Regions from separate parts of the Homo sapiens genome. Here region 2 is linked to region 1. Evidence: promoter capture Hi-C in 16 types of primary human blood cells and fetal thymus (Javierre and others, 2016). All regions are on one chromosome and are shown on one strand. The core of a region is centred on a gene start or on the middle of the fragment in contact, and the rest is flanking DNA. Distances in the headings are between cores, read along the strand shown.

What was found. Contacts are between HindIII fragments. The CHiCAGO score rates a contact against its expected background, and 5 or more counts as called.
Region 2: a contact is called between the fragment with the promoter of KIF1A here and the fragment with the promoter of THAP4 in region 1, in 1 of 17 cell types (M2 macrophages). The highest score is 7.7, in M2 macrophages.

The regions. Positions count from the first base shown.
Region 1 is chr2:241,632,989-241,638,407 of GRCh38, forward strand. THAP4 (THAP domain containing 4) reads right to left here and starts at 4,170. Exons shown (of 6, transcript NM_015963.6): 1 at 3,953-4,170; 2 at 1-1,091. The coding sequence starts at 4,029. ATG4B (autophagy related 4B cysteine peptidase) reads left to right here and starts at 4,705. Exons shown (of 13, transcript NM_013325.5): 1 at 4,705-4,736. The coding sequence starts at 4,727. RefSeq lists silencers at 3,693-3,832, 3,903-3,972, 4,003-4,352, 4,723-4,772, 4,793-4,982 and 1 more and an enhancer at 4,326-5,253. The HindIII fragment of the contact is 17,924 bases long and covers 1-5,419 here.
Region 2 is chr2:240,818,943-240,824,793 of GRCh38, forward strand. KIF1A (kinesin family member 1A) reads right to left here and starts at 1,277. Exons shown (of 49, transcript NM_001244008.2): 1 at 1,180-1,277. RefSeq lists an enhancer at 1,689-2,263. The HindIII fragment of the contact is 8,764 bases long and covers 1-4,103 here.

The DNA.
Region 1 (5,419 bases), core at 2,920-5,419:
GCTTCCGCACCTGGCTGTCGGAGCGGCTGACCCTCTGCCGCAGGCTCTTCAGCTCGCCGTTCTTCTTCTCCACCTGCTCCCGCAGGCAGCACACCTGGCTCTTGTTCTGCCGGGAGGAGAAGCAGTAGGAGTGCAGTGAGTCGATGAGCTTGCAGGCCCCTGACGCCGACAGGATGACCTCGTTGATGGACATGGGGCTGGCGTCGCTGTGCTCGCTCTGCACGGCTTCCGTGGCTGGCTTTGGGGTGACGTCGGCAGGAGGGGCAGAGGGGCTCTGGGAAGGCTTCTGCGGTGTCGCGGTAAGTGATGAGCTGGGAGGGCTCTGGGCCAGGCCCTTGTCGGGTCCCAGGCTGCTCCCACTGCAGCTTGGTTCCACATCTTTCTTCAGCCTCTTGCGGTCAATGGGCTCTCGGGGGACAGATGGCCTTTCTCGGGTGTGCTTAGAGGAGAAACTGTACGAATGAAGTGAGCCGATAAATTTGCACGCCCCAGATCCTGGGGGCGTAAAGTCATCCATAGAAATGCCACTCTTATCTGTCACGCCCCCTTCGATGGAGGAAGTGGCGCTCTCATCGCCAGCATCTGTGGCAGACGCTTCTGCTTTTCCCTGACTGCCTGCCACCATGGTGGCCAGTCCATCTCCTGGAGTCCGTTCCAGAGCTTGCTGGGCCTGCTCCTGGCTGGCGGCCTCCTGGGCCGCCCTGGGTGTGGCTTCACCTTGCAGAGCAGCTTGCTTCAACCTGCGGGACTCTGGCTTGGCCATCGGGTTTCCACTCGAGGACGGTGACCAACCTGCAGCTCCTCTGCTGGTGGCGGCACTCGAGTGTCCCCTCACACCCCCTGTGGCCTTGCTGGCATCTTTTCTCCGGGTGCGGCCATGGCCTCCAGCCCCCCTCTTCTTCTCGGTCAGGTGGAAGATGGATGGCACGGCCGTGGGCTTCAGCAGGCGATGCTGGTCCTCCAGCCTCTTGGAGAAGCTGTCTTTGGTGAAATGCTCACTACAGAGAAATGAATACTTAGTGGGAGTCCAGTTATCCCTCTGAACAGCTTTTAACCATTGGATTAGACGTTTTGAGTCCTTTAGGGGGAACCTACAGGACAAATGACAAAAAGTAATTAGAAATAATTAAATGTCTCCCCTTAAAATAATCAACTGTAAAAGCAAAACAAGTATTTTTGCACGCACCCTAAGCCGTATTGACTTCATCCACTTAAAAAAATACTTCAAAAAGATTTAAAGAACATCTTCTACCTGCAGTTATTACTGGAGTAGAAATCTGAAAGACCCGTTGTCTACCCATACAGAGCTTATAGTCTGTAGGGCGGATGGGAAAGAAGGTAACCAACTGCTCCCCAGGCTGTGGTAAATGCCCAATGGGGACACAGGATGCTGACAGACAGTGCCAGGATGGCCTCAGGACAGCAGGAAATAGCTCCTAGAAGCTGACTGCTAACCAACCCTCCCAACTTGCCTGGAAGGTAGGACTCTGGGTACCAAAACCAGGGCCAGCATCCACAGACACTAGGGCGTGAGAGGTCAGGACTGCATGGAGGCAGCCCTGGCTGTGCGCAAGCAGCTGAGAATCTGGAGACCTCCAGAAGACTCCAGAGCTACAGTTCTGTGTTCCTGTTGCATGCCCACCTCCAGGAGTAAAAATGCTCCTTTTAAAAGTCAACCAGCCCAGGGACAGGGCACAATGGTGCTCACCTGCAGTTCCAGTTACTTGGGAGCCTGAGGCTTGAGGGTTCTTTGAGCCCAGAAATTCGAAGTTACAGTGAGCTAAGACTGCACCACTGCTCCCCATCCTGGGGAACAGAGTGAAACCCGGTCTTCTCCCCTCAAAAAAAATCAACCAACTCAGATGATCCTTGAGGACATTATACTGAATGAAATAGGGCAGGTGCAAAAAAACAAACACTGCATGATACCACTCACATGAGGTACTCAGAGTAATCAAATTCATAGAGACAGGAGAATGCGGGTTCCCAGAGCCTAGGGAGAGGAGGACTGGGGTATTAATGTTTAATGAGTCCAGAGATTCCGCTTTACAAAATAAAAATAATTCTGGAGGTGGATGGTAGTGACAGCTGCACAACAACGTGAATGTATTTGTTGCCATGAATTGTACACTGAAAAAGCGGTAGGAAAGGCTGGGAGCCGTGGCTCATGCCTGTGATCCCAGCTACTCTGGAGGCTGAGATGGGAGGACCACTTGGGTCCAGGAGGCTGAGGCTGCAGTGAGCTACGGTCATACCATTGCACTCCAGCCTGGGTGACAGAGTGGGACTCTGTCTCCAAAAAAAGTTAGGATGGTAAATTTCATGTTACATGTATTATACCATAATTTAAAAATGGTGAGAAAAAAGCAACCAGCGCAGGAAGATACTGAATAGGATGTTTAGTCATTTCTTTATTACCTAATAAAGATCCTTCATAACCATTTCTTCATTAAGGCAAACTCTGTGTTTAAGAACATAGGCCTGGGCCGGGCGGGGTGGCTTATGCCTGTAATCCCAGCACTTTGGGAGGCCGAGGCGGGTGGATCACTTGAGGTCAGGACTTTGAGGCCAGAGTTCGAGACCAGCCTGGCCAATATGGTGAAACCCTGTCTCTACTAAAAATACAAAAAAATTAGACAGGCGTGGTGGCGCTTGCCTGTAATCCCAGCTACTTGGGAGGCTGAAGCAGGAGAATAGCTTGAACCCAGGAGCGGGGGTTGCAGTGAGCCGAGATCGCACCAATGCACTCCAGCCTGGGCGACAGAGGGAGACTCCTTCTCAAAAAAAAGAGAAAAAAAGAAAAAAAAACCAGGCCCTAATGTGCACATAAGGGACAGGGTGGTCAGTTCTAACTGCTATTTGCTCCACCTGAGGCCAGTGTGGACCAGGACAAATCCTAACAGGATGGACTGGGCCGTTCTAAGCAACAGGACCTTCTAACCTCCTTTCTGAACACTGTGAGGCCAACTGCAAAGGTACCCCCCCACCCCCAATTCCGATGTCCTTTCCTCCCATACCATGTTAGACCGTTGCAACACGTTGCCTCGTTTTCAAAAAACAATAACAAAACTTCTAGGACACAAGCTCTGAAGGAAATTGTCAAGAAAGTGCGCTGGCTGACTTGTGAAATAATCTAATGTTACTAATTCTTATAATACATTGTAATGATTTAAGACTTACAGCAAACTACTGTGAACTTTCAATAACCCTATAAATAACACGTGCCATTCCCGTCTTTAAAACTTAAATAACACCATGCAACATAAAACAGAAACATCTCCAAAGTGGTTTTTAAAGTCTGTTCGCGGTTCTGGTGCCTCCCGCGTGTAATCCGCAGAAATCTCACTGAAATAGGCTGAACTCACAAGGCCTTAGAGGGGTTTGGGCCCTGCCGCGGGGGCCCACGTGGGAAGCGGCCGAGAGCCCCGGGCCAGGCTCTAAGGGAGCGCAGGAGGATGCCGTCCCCAGCCGGCCGTCCCGTAGACTCTCCGCGCGTACCCGCGTCCTGGGCTCGGGGGCCCAGTCCCGGAAAGCCCTCTCGGGGGCTGTCAGCTACGGAGGCGCAGGTCGCGTCTGCCCGGTCGCTCCTGCTCGCAGACATCCAGGCCGACGGCCCGCGCGGTCCGGAGAGTCAGCAGTCGCGGCCGAGCAGGACAATCGGCCCAGGACCTGCGCTTCCAGAGCGTGCGGCTTCTGAAGCCTAGGCGCCGGCCGGATCGATCGCGCGCAGGGCGGACCCAGGCGGCCGGGGTGGGGGCGGCTGCGCTGCCCGAGGCGCCCGGCCCAGAGACGGCGGCCGGGCCAAGGTCACACAGCGCCCACGCCCGCTCCCCCGCGCCCCGGCCGCCGAGGCCCGGCGCCCCCGCCCCCCGCGTTCGGGCCGGCCGCGGGGCCTCAGTTTCCCCGCAGGGCCGGGTCGGGGCGGGGGCGTGGCGGCCCGGGGCCCGCGTACCTGTGGAAGGAGACGGCGCGCTTCTCGCCCTTTCCCTGCCGGTTGGAGCAGTTCACGGCCGCACAGCAGATCACCATCGCGGGCCTTGGCCCAGCCGCGCAGCCAGGCCCCGGCCCTAGCCGCCCGCCCGCCCGCGGACCGCCCCGAGGGAGGGAGCGCGGCGGCGACACGGCTCGGGACGTGGGCCGGCCCGCGGCGTCCGCGCCGTACGGCAAGATGGAGGCGCAGGCGCCCGCAGCGGGCCCGCCCCCGCCCCAGCCCCCGCCCGCGTCCTCGCCAGCCGCGGGTTCGGGCGTCTTCGGACCAGCGGGGCGCCGCAGGCCCCTCGCAGCGTCCGTCGGCAGGCGGGCAGACGGGCGGGGGAGTCGCCCCGGCGGGGCAAGTCCGTACCGCGACATGGGCGCGCCGAGCACGTCCGTACCGCAAGATGGCTGCTCGGACGGGGACAGAGCTCGCCTCTGCCGCCTCGACAACTGCTCCTGGGTCCTCTAAGAGGAGGAAGCGCCACCCATGGCACACAGTGTCCCGTCGGACAGCAGAACCAGCCGTCGTCCCACGACACGACCCCATGCCGCCCGCAGGGCGCCCCGGGGCTCGCGTCGGCCCGGCCGTACGCCAAAATGGCGGCTCCCGCGTATTTCCGCTCGCGCGCCGTATCGTCTTCGCCGCCTGCGCCGGCACACCTATTGGCCCCCGCGGCGTCCCGTCGCCGCGTCGCGTTGCTGGCCCGTCGGAGCGACGCCGCTCGGGTCAGTCGGCGGCCGGACTGGGAAGATGGACGCAGGTGAGGAGTTGCCGGGGGTCGGTCTTTCCGCAGGAGGTGCTCGCCTTATCATTGGCCTCCCCTGCTCGGGTCGGGCTGCCGCGACTCGCCTCGGGGCACGCCGGTGCGGGCCAGGCTGGGCCGGGGCGGCGGGCGCTGCGGGAGCGCGGGGCGGTGTTGGTGGGTGGTGGGCGGTGGGAGCGGGAGGGGGACGGCGGCGCACTGCGCCGCGGAACCCGCCGTCGGTTGCGCTGGAGCTTCTGCTTTTCCGGTCCCGTCCGGAGCGCTCCGGAGGTTGTGGCTGCACAGGCCCTTGCGCCAGGTCGGCCGTGGAGGGCGGCGGAGCCTGCCGGGCGGGGAGAGGCGCGGCGGCGAACGGGGCGGCCGCGGTCCGGGCCGGGGACGCGAGCGGCGGGCGAAAGCGTAGCCTTTCCGCAGCTGAGCGTGAAGGGATGGAAGCTCTTTAACTTTTATGAAGTTATTGGTAGGTTGGAGGAGAGAAACGTGACGTGTTCATCACAGTATACGTATCTTTTTTGTTTTTGTCTTCAATTTAGTAACCAGTAGATTCTCCAAGCTGCTTTTCCGTGACGAGAAAGAGAAACAGTGAATTTGTATCATCGGGTCTTAGTTTCTTGGGGTCCTAAGAGAGAGAGAAAGAGAAGGAGTGTGTGTGTGTGTGTATAGGGAGTGTTGGTTTTTTT
Region 2 (5,851 bases), core at 27-2,526, 820 kb before region 1:
CAGTCTCTGGGGGAAAGTCCCTATTCCCGGGGACGTGGGCGCGCATCGGGTCCGCGCCGGGCGACGTCGCGCTCGCGCCCAGCAGGCCCCATGACTTGGCATTCCCTCCTTCCCCTCCCCCTCCCGCCCCTGCGGCCGGCAGGGCCCCCCCAACCCCACCTACCGGCGCCCAGCGCCCCGCTCCTGCGGACCCTCCCTCCCGGCGGGGATGCTGCCCCGGCCCTTCCCAGCGAGAGGGCAGCGCGGCTGGTTTGGGGGAAGTCAGCGTGAGGAGCGGCTTAAAGCGGGAGTGCGAAGGTCTTCGCGGCCACTGTTCCTTCGTGTCATCCGAGCCCGGGCGCCGGGGGCGCGCCGCCAGCCTAGACCCTGCGGCCCCGCAGCCCCTCCCTCGCCGCCGGGCCACACCTGTTACAGGGGCGCTGGCTGCTGAGACGCAGGCAGTGCTCGCCGGCGGCCCCTCCCAGGTGCTGGGTCTTTCTGGAAGGGAGCTGGGGTCTCTGGCGTGGGAGGGGGTGATGGGCAGGCCGGCCGTGCAACGAAGCGGGTGGCCAGGCCCCAACGCCGCAGCCCCCGCCCCGCCCGCCTGTTTTGCTCCCGGCTCCAGCATCCGCCCTCCCCCACCCCGGGAACCGGAGCAGCTGCCCGCGCCCGGCCGCCCTGCGCGCTCTCCCCTCGGGCCGAGGCGCTGCAGCCGCGCACCCTCCCAGGTGCGGCGTCAGCGTCCTCAGCCCCGCTCACCATCCCTCCCCTCCCCCGCCGTCTGGGCGCAGCCCCTCCCGCAGCCCCGCCGGTGGCTCCTCTCCAGGGAAGCGGAATAGCCGGGGAAGGGCGGGGGTATCCCGATCCCGCCGGCCGGGCGAGCCCTCCCGAGGGCGACCCCCGCCCGCCTAAGCCGAGGGTCCCGCTGCAGCCGAGATCGCGGCAAAGGGACCTTTTCCAGCGGCACCTGAAGGGCGGACACCCCTGAATTTCCCCCATTGTTCTCTGCGGAGATGGAGGAAGGTCTGGAAGTGAAGGGGCCTCGCAGTGCCTGCGCTTTGGGCGGCAACAAGGGCGCCGGGCCGGAGCTCCCCGCCCTGGGCGCAGTGGGTGCAGGTGCGGGCTGCGGGCGCGGGCTGCCGGGCGCAGGTGCGGGGCGAGGGGCGCGGGCGCGGGAGGCCGGGCGGGCGGCGGCCTTACCTCTCCGGCGTCACTGGCGGCGGCCCCGCATGGGCACTGGCATGGGCGCGGGCTCTCGAGCCCGGAGCTGCTGCCGCTCGCCGGCTGCTCTGCGCTGTGACGGCGCCGCCGCGTGACGGGCTGCGCGCCCCCGGCCCGGACCGCCCCGCGCCCCTCCCGAGGCGCTGGTTGGCTGCGCGCGGCGTCCGAGCTCCAGTCGCCAGCTGGTTTGTCGCGCGGGGAGAGGGACGGGCGACGCGGCCGCCGCGGGGATGGGGCTGGGGACGGAGGGGGCCGGGGCCGGGCTGTGACGTCACCGCTGACACCGCGGCGGGCCCCGCGGAGGGTGGGGGACCGACACCCGGCTCGGACGCAGCGTCCCCTCCCCCGGCGTGCCCCTGAGACCTCGCGGGGGAGGGACCCGGCGGCGCCCCGTCCCGAAGCCCCGCGTGCACCTGAACTTGCCCGCGGACCCCTCGCCGGGCCGTCCCCCACCCTGGCCCCTTTCGAGTGAAATCGTAAAACGTCCACCTGCCCCCGCTCTGAGCCAGCGACAGACGCATCGTGGGGGGCGGGCGGGGCTGGGGAGGGAGGGCTCCTTGCGCCAGGGATGCTGGCTCCGGGTGTAACAGGTGCGCGGTGAAATCGCATCTTGTGTCGGGGCCGGGGCGCCGGGGGAAGAGCAGCAGTGACCCAGGCCCTCCCCGCCGGATGATGCAACCCGCCCGCGGACCCGCCGCCTCGCCTCTACCGCGGCTCGTGGGGACCCCCCGCCCTCCTCTCGCCCCACCTCTCCAGGCCCCCATTGTCCTCACCCCAGCCTGTCCAGTTTAACTTCCTTGGACCCCCAAGTCACACGCCGCTCGGGGGCCACCCCGGCAAACCCCAGCCTGCGTCACCCGCCCCCAGCCGCCTTCCTAGTTCCAGGGGCTGACTGGTATCTCTGTGCGCGCCACCGTCCTCCCTCCACCGTCCCAGGGCTGGGCAACTTCGACAAAGCCTCTGGGCAGCTCGCCCATGGGAACCTCCCCGCACTGCGGTGCGGGGGTGCACGGATTTCGGGCCACCCTGAACCCCGGGGCTGGGTCCCCTCCAGCCCAGCCCCTGCCATCGAGCCCCTGCCATGGGCATCCTGGCGTCGCCTGGCTAAGCCTCCCTGGCGCCCAGCAGGGGCCTGCGCTGCCCTAGCGGCCTCGCCGTTAACCATTTCATCCACACTCCTGGGAGAGCCGGCTTCACCTCAGTCCCGACAGCTGCGTGCGAGCGCCTTGCAGGTGGCTGGGGGAGATTCACATCCACTTCTGCAAGACACGGGCCCCCCACTCCCAGCCCCAGCCCCGCCGAAACCAGCTAGACAGCTCCTCCTCCTTCACTATTTCCTGGAACCGCCGGCATGAAAGAGAAATCAATTGTTCTTCCTAACCCTGGCAGAAACAATAAAACCATCTGGGCTTCTGGGGCTGGGGTCTTTATCACCTCCGTTTTCCTCATGCTTTTTAATCTGGCAAGTTCTCTATTTCTCGAGGCAATAGACATTTTTCTAGGAATTAATCTATTTCACGTTAATATTTAAATGACTAGCATATCTTTTTTTCTTTATATTCTGGCTTTTTATGGTTTTGTTTGTTTGTTTTGACAGGGTCTTGCTCTGTCTCCCAGGTTGGAGTACAGTGGTGCCATCTTGGCTCACTGCAGCCTCAGCCTCCCCAGCTCAAGCAATCCTCCCACCTCAGCCTCCCTAGTAGCTGGAACTACAAGTGTGTGCCACCACGCCCAGCTAATTTTAGCATTTTTTGTAGAGACAGGATTTTGCCCTGTTGCACAGGCTGGTCTCAAACTCCTGAGGTCAAGCCATCCACCCACCTCGGCATCCCAAAGTGCTGGGATTACTGGCATGCATTTGGCCTGTATTTTGTTTTTTGCATTTTTCTCTTTTAATATTTTTAAATATTTTCAGAGCTCCAACTTTTAGTTCTGTTAAACGTCTTTCCCGTTATTTCATTTGCTTCTGTCTTTCTGTATTATTTCCTTCCTTTGTGGTTCTTTGGATTTGATCTGTTCCTCTGTCTTGAACCAAATGCTTAGCTCCTTTTTAAGCCTTCTGATTTTCCAATAGATCTACTGTATTAAAAGCTACAAAATTCCTTCTACAGAACTGTCTTGGCTGAGTCTCACAAATTTGGACATAAAATGTTTTCATTATCATTCATATCTAATATTTTCTACTGTTCCTGATGATCTCCTTTTAAACCCAGGGTTATTTAATAATGTTATTTACTTTTCAATAGTGTTTCTTTAATTATAACCTTTTGTTACCAGGTTCTAATTTAATTGCATTGTTGTCAGAGAACAAGTCTGTATTCAGTCAAGATCCTGGCAGGAAGCAGATGGCACACTCAAATTGGGTAATTTGAGAAGGGTTTGATAAAGAGACTATTGATAAAGGTGTGGGCAGGAGGTCGGAGAGCCCCAGGGGCTTGGTGGCACTGCAGCCTTACTGCCTGCAGGGAGCGGGGCGGGCAGAAGCAGAGGCTCAGGTGGAGGGGTGCAGCCAGCCAGAGTTTCCTAGGAAGGGAGCCAGGGCAGCAAACCCTGGACCTCACTCTCCCTCTTCCCCTGATCTGGTAGTGCTTTGGCTGAACCCAAGGGGAAGCTGGAGGTCAGGGGCACCCAAGGAGTATGGTGCATTTCGGGTGGTCTCCTGAAGAATGGGCAAAGGGAACTTAGAAGCACAAACAGAAACTAGCTGCCCAGTCTGCATGGCCCTGTGCCTCTGGAATTCATTGAGGCTTCTTTAGGTCCTAACACATAGTCTATTTCATACATGTTCTACCTGTGTTCAAAATGGTTGTACTCTCTGCTTGATGGGCAGAGAGTTCTCTATATTATGTATTAGTTCAAAATTATTAATTCTTGACTCAGTAAGGTAAGATCCCAGATAGAAAAGCTTTTTAAGGTTATTAATCATTTTGATCAGGATTTGGAGATTTCTGCTAATTTTTGTCAATGTGAACTATGCTTATTATTTTTTAAAATTTCCAGTTAGAATTGTTAAAATATCTGCTTCTCCCAGCAGTTCCGGCACATGTTGCTTGCTGTGTATTGTGGCCATATTTTTAGATATTAGAATGATTGTGATAGACATGCATTATCATTCTGTGGCTCCTTGCGCCCATATGTATGTGTGCCCTTCTTTGTCTGGCGTTTGGAGTTTTTAAATTTTTTGCCTTAAATTTGAATGTCATACATTACATGTCAATCCAGTTTTCTTTGGTTCATATTTGCTTGCTATGTCTTTTGCCAACTTTCTTATTTTAAGCTTTTTGTATCTTTTTAAAGCGTATCTCTTTTAGGCAACCCATTGTGTAAATTTTTAAATGTAATCTGTCTCTGCCTTTTAATTGGAATTTAACCCACTTACATTTACAGCAATTACTGTTATATCAAGACTAAGCTTTGCTGCCTGTTCCCTGACTGCTCCTCATCAAAGACAGAGTCTGAGATACCAGTGCTGGCCCCTCCGTCCCACTCAAGACCCCTCCGACGGGCAGCTTTATCAGGGACACCCATCAGCTTGGCCGAAAGCTTCTGGGAGGGGGACTGCAGTCTGAGACTCTTCCTACCCAAGCCCCTTCCTTCCCTGTCTCTTTTGCAGGCCTCAGACCTGCCTCAGGATCTGAAGCTCTTCTGCCTGCACCTGCTCCCTCCCCTCTATCCTGCATGGGCTTACTCCCAATCACCACTCGCCCCTCCTCTAATGCCACAGAGACATGGACTGACATGGATCCCCGGGGAGCATGTTTTTCTCTCCAGCTGGCCATATTCCTTGGGCGTCGAGTGACTCTGGCCTGTGAGCGCCCAGTGGTGTCGGGACAGCAGCTGCTCTACTGGCAGCCTGCAGTGGGGAGGCACAGAAGCCAGGCCCATACAGGGAAGGCCTGGAGTGCAGGCTCCTTCCTGAAACTGATCACCACTCCTTGCTGCCTCCCTCCCCAGAGCCCACAGAGGAGCCACTTCCCTACCTTGTGCTGCATCATGCTGTAGCATCTGAGAGGAGGCTCTCTGGACAGCTCTCTGTTGTCTCCAGGGCCGTCCCACCCAGGAGGACCTCGCAGCTCCCTAACAGTCCCCGTGATGGCTTCCTGTGGTCCAGGCCATCCCAAGACGGGCAGGAGAGCAGGACTAAACTGTGTCTCTCCTGCCCGTCCCCCTTGCCCTGGCTGCAGCCTCCACCCACTTCACAGACCTCATCTATTTTTCCAGTGGGAAAAGGCCCAGTAACAGAACATGCGGGGCCCAGTGCAAAATGAAATAAAGCCGCCTTGTTCAAAAGCCTGGCAAAGTGCAGTTAAAGGTGCTAAATATACAAACCTCTTCCTCCATTCCCCAGGCTCTCTTGATTAGCCATGGTGTTTTCTTGCTATTTAATGCCATTCTAAGTAAAGAAAATTAAAATTTTAAATTGCTAGCATGAATTTTACTCTTCAGCTTTCTATCGTAGAATGCCAGTTTTAAATGCAGATAGAAGAGCTTTCAACTCATACACCGAATCACTGAAATTACACAGCTCATATTTCCTAGTTCATCTGTGTGTGTTTTCTGTTCTTACCAGAACAATGAAAACCATGCACACTACTCACTTGCCTGCTTCTATTTCACTTCTTGATGCTGGCACCAACATTCTCTGCCTCCC